2 separate regions of the Homo sapiens genome follow, and region 1 is linked to region 2. The links are contacts of gene promoters, found by promoter capture Hi-C in blood cells and fetal thymus (Javierre and others, 2016). All regions are on one chromosome and are shown on one strand. The core of a region is centred on a gene start or on the middle of the fragment in contact, and the rest is flanking DNA. Distances in the headings are between cores, read along the strand shown.

Region 1 (5,228 bases), core at 2,729-5,228, 260 kb after region 2:
CTTATCTTGAAGAGAGAAGCTTCATAAGGAATAAACAAGTTGAATAGAGAAAACACTGATTGATAATAGGCATTTTCATGGTCTTTTTAATGTTTTCTGTTGTTAAACATTTCAAGATTTATTGATTTTTTTTTTCACTTTCCCCATCACACTCACAGGCACGCTCACACTTTTTATTTGCCGTAATGAACCGTCTAGCCCCTGTGGAGATCTCCTATGAGAACATGTGTTTTCTGATAACTCACAACCCTACCAATGCTACTCTCAACAAGTTCACAGAGGAACTTAAGAAGTATGGAGTGACGACTTCGGTTTGAGTTTGTGATGCTACATATGATAAAGCTCCAGTTGAAAAAGAAGGAATCCACGTTCTAGATTGGCCATTTGATGATGGAGCTCCATCCCCTAATCAGATAGTAGATGATTGGTTAAACCTGTTAAACACCAAATTTCGTGAAGAGCCAGGTTGCTGTGTTGCAGTGCATTGCGTTGTGGAATTGGGAAGGGCACCTGTGCTGGTTGCACTTGCTTTGATTGAATGTGGAATGAAGTACGTAGATGCAGTTCAGTTTATAAGACAAAAAAGAAGGGGAGTGTTAAATTCCAAACAGCTGCTTTACTTAAGATGCGATTACGCTTCAGAGATACCAATGGGCATTGCTGTGTTCAGCAGAAAGAAATGTAAATGAAGGCTGACTTGATTGTGGCATTTAGAGGGAACTCCTGGTACCTGGAAATGTGAATCTGGACTCTTACCTGTGTCATCAAAGTAGTGATGGATTCAATACTCCTCAACCACTCTCCTAATGATCAGAACAAAAGCAAACAAGAAATCTCTCTATAAAATGAATAAAATGTTTAAGAAAAAAAAAGAGTTCGAGACCAGCCTGGACAACATGGTGAAATCCCATCCCTACAAAGGTTAACTGGGCTTGGTGGCACGTGCCTGTAATCCCAGCTACTCAGGAGACTGAGACAGGAGAATGGCTTGAACCTGGGTGGCTGAGGTTCCCGTGAGCTGAGATTAAAAAAAAAAATCATACTTCCCTAGTATCTAAAGTTGATATCTGATTCCAGGCCTCTTTCAACTTTTTTTGTTTGTTTGTTTGTTTTTTTGATATGGAGTCTCGCTCTGTCATCCAGGCTGGAATGCAAATGGCACGATCTTGGCTCACTGCAACTTCCACCTCCAGCGTTCAAGCGATTCTCCTGCCTCAGCTTCCCAAGTAGCTGGGACTACAGGCGTGTGCCACCAAGCCTGGCTAACTTTTTTTCTTTTTTTTTTTTTTGAGAGGGAGTCTTGCTCTGTCCCCCAGGCTGGAGTGCAGTGGTGTGATCTTGGCTCACTGCAACCTCCGCCTCTCCGGTTCACGCCATTCTCCTGCCTTAGCCTCCCGAGTAGCTGGGAGTACAGGCGCTCGCCAACACGCCCGGCTAATTTTTTGTATTTTTAGTAGAGATGGAGTTTCACCGTGTTAGCCAGGAGGGTCTTGATCTCCTGACCTCGTATCCGCCCGTCTTGGCCTCCCAAAGTGCTGGGATTACAGGCGTGAGCCACCGCGCCCAGCACCTGGCTAACTTTTGTATTTTTAGTACAGACGGGGTTTCACTGTATGTTGGCCAGGCTGGTCTCAAACCCCTGACTTGAGGTGATCTGCAAGCCTCAGCCTCCCAGAGTGCTGGGATTACAGGCGTAAGCCACCGCTCCTGGCCTAAGGTTGGCTATTTTTATGGTTATTTCTTGATTATATGATAAACAAGGGGTGGGTTAGTAATGAATTTTTCAGAAAAGGGGTGGGGATCCCCCCCAACTGAAGGTTCCTCCACTGTTTAGACCATATAGGGTAACTTCTGGACGTTGCCATGGCATTTGTAAACTGCCTGGCGCTGCTAGGAGTGTCTTTAGCATACTAATGCATTATAATTAGCGTATAATGAGCAGTGAGGACGATCAGAGGTCACCTTCCTGTCTTGGTTTTGGCAGGTTTTGACCAGTTTCTTTGCTGCATTCTGTTTTATCAGCGGGGTCTTGTGACCTTTTATCTTGTGCTGACCTCCTGTCTCATCCTGTGACGAAGGCCTAACCTCCTGGGAATTCAGCCCAGCAGGTCTCTGCCTCATTTTACCCAGCCCCTGTTCAAGATGGAGTCGCTCTGGTTGGAAACTTCTGACAAAATGACAGCTCCTGTTATGTTGCTGCTGCTGCCGCCAATGGACAGCCTTTAACGTGCCCGCCAGCCCTGCTCCACCGCCGGCCTGGGCTCACATGGCCCCATCCCTCCTCGAACCTCCTAGCCTGTTAGTTACTCAAATCTGCAAGCTCTCTGCCTTCTCAGGGCCTTCAATAAATGCATTTCTTCTGTCTGGAAGGCTCTTCCTTTCCCTCTTCTAGCCAATTCCTATTCATCCCTGAGTTTCAGATTAAAAGTCACTTCCTTTGGAAACCTTACTTCGCTACTTCGCTACTTACTGCACTACTTCGCAGCATCACAACTATGATGGAAATCCTTACTTACGTTAAATATCTGGTTTCTAGGTCACCTCCCTGACGGGGACGGTAGGGACCGTCTTCTCGTTCATCAGTAGGGAAGTAGCTATGGCAGTGCCTGATACAAAATAAACTCCAAATGTGTATTTATTAGATGGTTGGATGGAAGTTATTTGCGTGTGAAAGCGCGTTTTACCCGAAGGCGCTCTGTGAGGGCCAGCGGGTCCCCTTCGGCCCTGGAGCCGGGGTCACACGCTCCCCACCGCGTGCGGTCACGAGACGCCCCCAAGGGAGTATCCTGGTACCCGGAAGCCGCGACTCCTGGCCCTGAGCCCGGGCTTAGCCTTCGGGTCCACGTGGCCGGAGGCCGGCAGCTGATTGGACGCGGGCCGCCCCACCCCCTGGCCGTCGCGGGACCCGCAGGACTGAGACCATGGAGGCGGTGGCGGTGGCCGCGGCGGTGGGGGTCCTTCTCCTGGCCGGGGCCGGGGGCGCGGCAGGCGACGAGGCCCGGGAGGCGGCGGCCGTGCGGGCGCTCGTGGCCCGGCTGCTGGGGCCAGGCCCCGCGGCCGACTTCTCCGTGTCGGTGGAGCGCGCTCTGGCTGCCAAGCCGGGCTTGGACACCTACAGCCTGGGCGGCGGCGGCGCGGCGCGCGTGCGGGTGCGCGGCTCCACGGGCGTGGCGGCCGCCGCGGGGCTGCACCGCTACCTGCGCGACTTCTGTGGCTGCCACGTGGCCTGGTCCGGCTCTCAGCTGCGCCTGCCGCGGCCACTGCCAGCCGTGCCGGGGGAGCTGACCGAGGCCACGCCCAACAGGTACCGCCCCGAAGCTTCCCCGCGTCCGCCCGAGGCGCTTACCCCCTCCCGGAGCCGCTGCCACCCAAATCGGGAGGCTGAGCGGGGAGCGCTGGCCGGAAGGCCCAGCTGCGCCGCCTCCAGCAGCTGTGTGGCCTTGAGCCAGCCACTCTGCCTTTCAGAGCCTCGGCTGGCCCACCTGAAAAACGGAAAGAAGACGCCTACCGTGCAGTGTTATTGTGAGGATTTGCACGATGATGGGCATAGAATTTGTGGTGCACAATTGGTGATGAGTGAATTTTCTTGCCTTCCTCCCCCACCTTCTCTTTGAACCTGCGGACTGAGGAAGGACGCCTCCATCCCCCACCCTACAGGCCTGTGTTCCAGCGCCTGCCACACTATGGAGTGATGTGTTCACACAGCTGTCCTCCCCTGCCCATCTGTTAGACTGTGGGGGCAGGGATTCCCCGTTCCAGGAAAACACCGTGCAGAGGAGGGGCTCTGGCAGTGTGGCATGAAAGTGGAATATGCCACCCAAATACCCGCCAGGCTAGAGGGCCCTGGGAGAGTGCAGGGGACGAGTGCCTCAGAAGCCCAGCCCCGGTACCTGGTCTCAGCTCCACCTGGGGTGGGTCCCAGTGTGCAGCAGAAGGGCCGAGTTTGGAGCCCCTCCCCTCTCCTCTAGGTGGGGGATGGGGGATTTGTTCCAGGGCCGTGGACCCTCCAGGGTGGGATGCGCCCCTGCTCATGACACTGCCCGCAGGTACCGCTATTACCAGAATGTGTGCACGCAAAGCTACTCTTTCGTGTGGTGGGACTGGGCCCGCTGGGAGCGAGAGATAGACTGGATGGCGCTGAATGGCATCAACCTGGCACTGGCCTGGAGCGGCCAGGAGGCCATCTGGCAGCGGGTGCGTGCCCACTGTCCCTTCCCCACCCTCCTCTATGGCGGGAGCCACCGTAGGTGTTTTCACCCGCCCCCCAGCATGGGCGCAGTGTCTCTCTCTAGAAGTGCTTTCAGCGTGCACAGTGGCTTGGGCCTCCTAAAAACTGAGGCTTCCGGCCGGGCGCGGTGGCTCACGCCTGTCATCCCAGCACTTCGGGAGGCCTAGGCGGGCGGATCAGGAGTTCAGGAGATCGAGACCATCCTGGCCAACATTGTGAAACCCCGTCTCTACTAAAATACAAAGAAATAGCAACCTGGGCAACAGAGCGAGACTCTGTCTAAAAAAAAAAAAAAAAAAAACTGAGGCTTCCAGTTTGAGGAGTGGGGCTCCTTCCCCCATCTCCCCTATGCAGCCAATCACCTGGTCCCTTGGATCCAACTCATGGGCAGCTCTAGATCTGCCTCCCTGGAAGCTTCTGTGCTGCAATGGCTGCTCCAGGCTCTGCTTAAGCTCTTCACACAGTTGCCCTGCCCTTCCATCTGGCACTCTTGCTCCATGAAGCCTTCTAAGGCCTTCCTGTTGGGGGAAAGCCCCTTTGTGCCCCATCTCCTCACCCATGCGACAAAGGCAACACAGTGAACTCACCTACTCACAGGTCTCTTTCCTCTGGGCTGTGGGCTCCTTGATGGCAGCGTTCGGATTTTGTCTCAGTAGCCCTAGCACCCAGCACAAAGAAGCAATGAGTGAATGGTTGTTGAATGAATGAATGAATGAATGAAGATGAATATATTTCTATGTGTGGGCCCTTCTTCCTCAGGTGTACCTGGCCTTGGGCCTGACCCAGGCAGAGATCAATGAGTTCTTTACTGGTCCTGCCTTCCTGGCCTGGGGGCGAATGGGCAACCTGCACACCTGGGATGGCCCCCTGCCCCCCTCCTGGCACATCAAGCAGCTTTACCTGCAGGTAAAAGGATGGAAAAGGGAAGGGGCAGAATCGGTGATAGATGGTCATGGGCCCAGGAAGGGTGGTATTAGGCCGGCCCCAGGGCTCTTAACTG
Region 2 (4,986 bases), core at 2,126-4,625:
AACACCCAATGTCAAGATTTTACTTCAAATAAGGCCACTATAATTAACAGTGAATACAATTTTAAAAAGTATTTATCACTCTGATGCTTAGAACTTAAATTTAAGTACAAAAACTGTCTGATCAATGGAAACTAGATTGTTAAGTTTGACTTTCTTATTCCCAGAAATAAGCATAAAACTGTTGTGTTTCCAACACTGCAGGAGAAAAAAAAAAACTTCTGATTTTAGAAGAGTTCTATTCACAAAGCTCAGAATTAAAAACATTTTCTTCCTTTAAATACCACACATTTGAGGACAGCGATAGTGCAGAGCTAACTTTGAAGCATTATTTTTATTAAGTTGCACAGTTAAAGTATTTTGATACTTTGATATTTTATAGTATCAAAATAAAAGGATATTCTTCTCAAGAGTCCAGTAACCTGGAATTGCCAGATAGCTTTTTAAACGAATAAGTTTCAAATTATCAGAAAAATCATACAAACTAGGGTTATTTTGCTTCCTTTTGTAGGAATAATGCAGTAATCTGCACTCTTAACAGAAAGGGAAAAAATGTGTCACAGATAGAATGTCCAGAAATCTGTGAATAACTTTATGAGATACAGACATTTTTGTAGGGCACGAAAATAGTTAGGCTTCCTTCGATTCCACCTGTAACCTGCATCTAATCTTGAGCATGTTATTTACCTATCTATAACGTCTTCCTTTTACAATAAGACTACCTGTGTCACCTACCTACATAACAACAAGCCAAATAAACCACAACAAATGGATTCATAATATATAAGCCTAACAAAAATTACAGACAATTTGAATACTAACAATACTATGATTTGAAAAAACTCGACTTAAGTATCAAAAAGTAATAAATGGCAACTTTAGTCTTGATGTGGCTTTTACATATGTAAATGACATAAAAACAATCAAGAGAGGAAGAAAATGGAGATGAGATGAAAAGTCAGAGCAGGATAGGAAGTGTTGACCAAAATATTTATGTTGTAACACTCCAAACGATGATAGCACATTTTTCTCCTACAATCATACATACTATGAAGTACACACCTTAAATTTCTGAACACAATCCATATTAATATCCCGTGGGCAAAAAATACAAGCACCGAAAAGGTGAGAACTGATGAGAAGGTGGGATAGTTTACCTAGTTGGGTATATAGCAAAGATTATTTTGTGCAGAGTTTAGCTTCAAGTTATGCAATAACCAAACTACTGGTGATAGAAATCAACTTTTTTTTTCTGATGGTTTGCTTTACAAAAAAAAAAAAAAAAAAAAAAAAAACCTCTCCATTCCTTCCCTGTGTCTCAATCTGGAGCTTGAAATTTCATCTTCCAGAGGCTACAGTAGCAAACAAGTCATCTCCTAGATAACGCGCTTACCTGACCCAAGGTGTGGACTTGTTTGAATTAAACGTAACAGATACCACAAATTGTCACATAGGAAGTTTTTCTTAAAATCAGCAGCCCCTTCTCTTATTTAGCCATGTCCATTCTAACAACTGTGATCTTCCATGAGATGGAAACTGGTACCCAAATGAATAAACAAAACAACCCAAAGCCTTAAAATAAAATCAATCAATAAGATTCTCCCCATTTGAAGTGATCAGAACCACTCCAATATTTACAGTGTTACAAAATGAAATTTTAAAACATGAAAGGCACACTCAATAAAATACATCCTCACCTAGGAACTCACAGGCAATGAACATAACGCAATATAACATAAGCAAATGGACAACAATAGAATGTTGGGGAGAGAGGCACAGTTCTATTACCTTAATTGAAAGATAACAAAATTATTTGAAATAATGTAGACCCAACAGCTGAAAGCTTATTATGGCCCAGGCGGCTATCCAACAGCTTTGGAAACCTAAGATCCAAGCAGACCATAAACACCACTTGAAGACTGAAAAAAATGACATAAGCCCAAGTATGATATTCAGTGTCACGCTGGCCCTTTCAAAGGGCATTCCCTGAGGACACTGCAGAGAAAATGTATGGAATTGTATCTAGGCAAAGATCTGTATACTGCACGATGCTTTGGGAAGAGCACGAATCTCAGAGTCCTTGAAGTTTCAATCCCTGGATACTCAACAAACAGCCGTGTCACCTGAGCAGGCCACTTACTCCACCTATCTGGGCCTCAGTTTCCTCATTTGTACAATAAAAGAATGGCATCATCGCTGGGTTCCTTTCCAGCTCTAACATTCTTTGACCCACTTTTGGCACTATTTATTTGATACGAGGTATGGCGGGATCACAGGGACCAAGAAGAAAAGAACTGACTCTGGCTCTTTGGCAAAGAGAGAATCGGTATCTCTTTTAGTCTTTAAAATTCTTGTGCTTTTCATTAATCCCGTCTTTCTAAAAGCTGACACTTGGTTTTCTTCTTTGGCTTTTCCATCACTGCTGGCTACAAGTGTTTGCAACCGCCTCTTGCTCCGTGTGAGTTCTTTCCTCTTTGTTCACCCCGACCATCTTGCCAGATTCCTTTAGCCTCAGACCAGCTTTTGTGATACAACTCCCCTTCCGACTCTCCATATCTACCCCCCGACACCAGGAGCACTTTTAACCCTTTATCCCTGACTAGAAAGAAAAAGCACACTGCATCCCACGGCCACACGCACGAGCCCAGGCCTGGCGGGTCCTGATGTGGGATCCCGCCCCCCAGAGTCTTATCGAAACGTTCGTATTTGTTGTCTTGATTCCTTATAAGGCCCTGTTTCTTGAAGCTTTGCTAATACCCCCCACCGCACCAGGCACCCCCGCAGGCTCATCCCATCCCCGGAGTCCCGGGAACCTCTTTTGAAAGAAAGAAGTTAAAGCAAGGAAGACGGCTGGGGATATTCGGAATTGCAACGTGAAGGTGTGAGGCGGCTGACAGCAGCCCCCTGAGCTCCTATGGGGTCGGCGCGGGGTCCCCACACACCCACTCAGCACACGCGCACGCAGCCTTTAAAGCGCACGCCCCCCGCGGCGCCGCGGCGTTCGCAAGTCCCCCTCGCGCACCCCGCATTGCCCTCAGCCTCCCCGGCAGCCAACCCGGACCCCCTCTCCCCGCGCGCGCCCCTCGCCCAGCGCGCAACCACCGCGGCCCGGGAGTGATGGCGGCGGCGCGGCCCTGACGGGCGGCTGAGCGGCTGGAGCGCGGGCCCCGCCCGGGCTGGCTCCCCGGCCTGGCTCCCCCGGCCCCGGGCCCAGGGCTCGCCCCGCAGCTCCTACCTCGCTCGGCCCCTCGGGCGCCCGCGGCTGCTCCGGCCCAGCTGTCTGGCTTGCCCGCCCGCCCGCTCGCTCCCTCCCTCGGCCGGGCCGCCGCGCGGAGTTGCCTGCGCTGGGTCCCCGCCCGGGGTGACGGCTCCGGCCGCCGACTCTCCTCCCGCCGGGGCCCGCGGGGGCGCGCGCGCCGCTCACGCGCGGAGGCCCAGGGACGCGCGCCGCTGGCAACCCGGAGCGCGCCCCGCTTCCTGGTTCCGCCCGGCGCGCGCTCGCTAGCCCGCTGTCCCTCGCGCCCCCTCCGCGACCGCCCTTGAAGGACCCGGACCCCCTCGGCACACCCGAGGTGGCGGCGCGCTCGGCGGTGCCGGTGCCGGCGCCGCGCGCACCCCCTTTCTGCGGCGGTGGGGTGTCTTCCCGGCTCGGCTCCCTAGCCGACGCCGCACCGCAAGCACATGCTGCTTTGTTTGGGTTGGGTCGACCACCACTAGCAGGGCTAGGGCGCACTGTCGTGGTCGTTTTGGTTGGCCCCCTCCGCGGCCCGCCCACCTCTCTCCCTGGGAGCCCAGGCCCGCGTTCCGGGTCCTCTCCCGCCGAGGCCGAGGTCAGAAGTCCACAGGGGCCCCGATCAATAATTATCCTGGGTTTGCCCCCGGGAGGGCGTCTCAGCCAGGGCTCCTGCCGCCTGCATGGGCACGGCAGGAATTCACATTCGCCCAGGCCGAATTCACCTGTCCGAGTTCCAGGGTGAACCTACGGGGGACGGGGCGCCTGGGGCCGGTTCCCTTCCTGGGAAAATCTGGCTGGCTCCCACCAGTCAGAGCTGCGGGAGGGACTGCTCTCTCTAGAGAAGAAAGAATAAACAGGGTCATCTGTAGGATCCAGGGGAAGGGGGTCCCCCAGATCCTTTCCACGTGCTGAGGAGGGGGTTGCGGTTGTGGGAAGCCAGGCTGAGTCACCCACTCTCCTTTCCTCTGCTACGTCTATCTCCCGGAGCTGGCCAGCGGTTTCCCTGGCAACCCTCCAAGGGCTAGCACTAAAGCAAGACATAGGAAAGCTCCAGAAGCCAAGCTGCAGGGGCCAAAAGAGAGAGAAGGACCCCTCCCGCCCCCACTCAGACACACAGAGCTCCCCTGTGTGTATGCAAAACGTTCATGTCCAGAGATGGCCCAGAGCTGCAAGTTCTCCCATAGTCCTCCCTGGGCAGCTCTTTCCAGCGGCCTTCTCTTCACCTCCAGAATGACACCAGCCACAAAGGTCTCCAGCTGGTCAAAAAACCCTTCTCCGCTACCCAGGCCACTGCTGCAGTCCCATACTCTGGGCCAACACCTGGCACAGTGCTTTGCACAGAGTAGGTTCAGGGAGCTTGGAGGCCAGAGAAGGAAGCAGGAAGCAGGATGGATGCGCCAACCAACCCCGAGCTCTCTGGCAATCTCCCTGACAGTTACTGCCCATGATGTTTTGACACTCAGGTGCTCCATGTTCTCCATATTTCTCTTTTATCTTTTCTTTTTCTTTTCTTTTTTTTTTTTTTTGAGACGGAGTCTCTCTCTGTTGCCCAGGCTGGAGTGAAATGGTGCGGTCTCAGCTCACGGCAACCTCCACCTCCTGGGTTCAAGTGATTCTCCTTCCTCAGCCTCCTGAGTAGCTGGGATTACAGGCGCACACCACCACATCCGGCTAATTTTTGTATTTTTGTAGTAGAGACGGGGTTTCACCATGTTGGCCAGGCTGGTCTCGAACTCCTGACCTCGTAATCTGCC

What was found. The method cuts DNA at HindIII sites, captures the fragments that hold promoters and counts their contacts. A CHiCAGO score of 5 or more calls a contact.
Region 1: a fragment that was not itself captured here is called in contact with the fragment with the promoter of STAT5B in region 2 in 2 of 17 cell types (fetal thymus and endothelial precursors); the score reaches 7.8 in fetal thymus.

The regions. Positions count from the first base shown.
Region 1 is chr17:42,533,352-42,538,579 of GRCh38, forward strand. It overlaps NAGLU (N-acetyl-alpha-glucosaminidase), which reads left to right and starts at 2,890. Exons shown (of 6, transcript NM_000263.4): 1 at 2,890-3,304; 2 at 4,047-4,194; 3 at 4,988-5,134. The coding sequence starts at 2,922. It also overlaps the pseudogene PTP4A2P1. RefSeq lists enhancers at 2,603-2,682, 3,196-3,933 and silencers at 2,793-3,202, 3,323-3,392. The HindIII fragment of the contact is 1,324 bases long and covers 3,317-4,640 here.
Region 2 is chr17:42,273,016-42,278,001 of GRCh38, forward strand. It overlaps STAT5B (signal transducer and activator of transcription 5B), which reads right to left and starts at 3,376. Exons shown (of 19, transcript NM_012448.4): 1 at 3,233-3,376. RefSeq lists a silencer at 3,009-3,618. The HindIII fragment of the contact is 9,010 bases long and covers 2,741-4,986 here.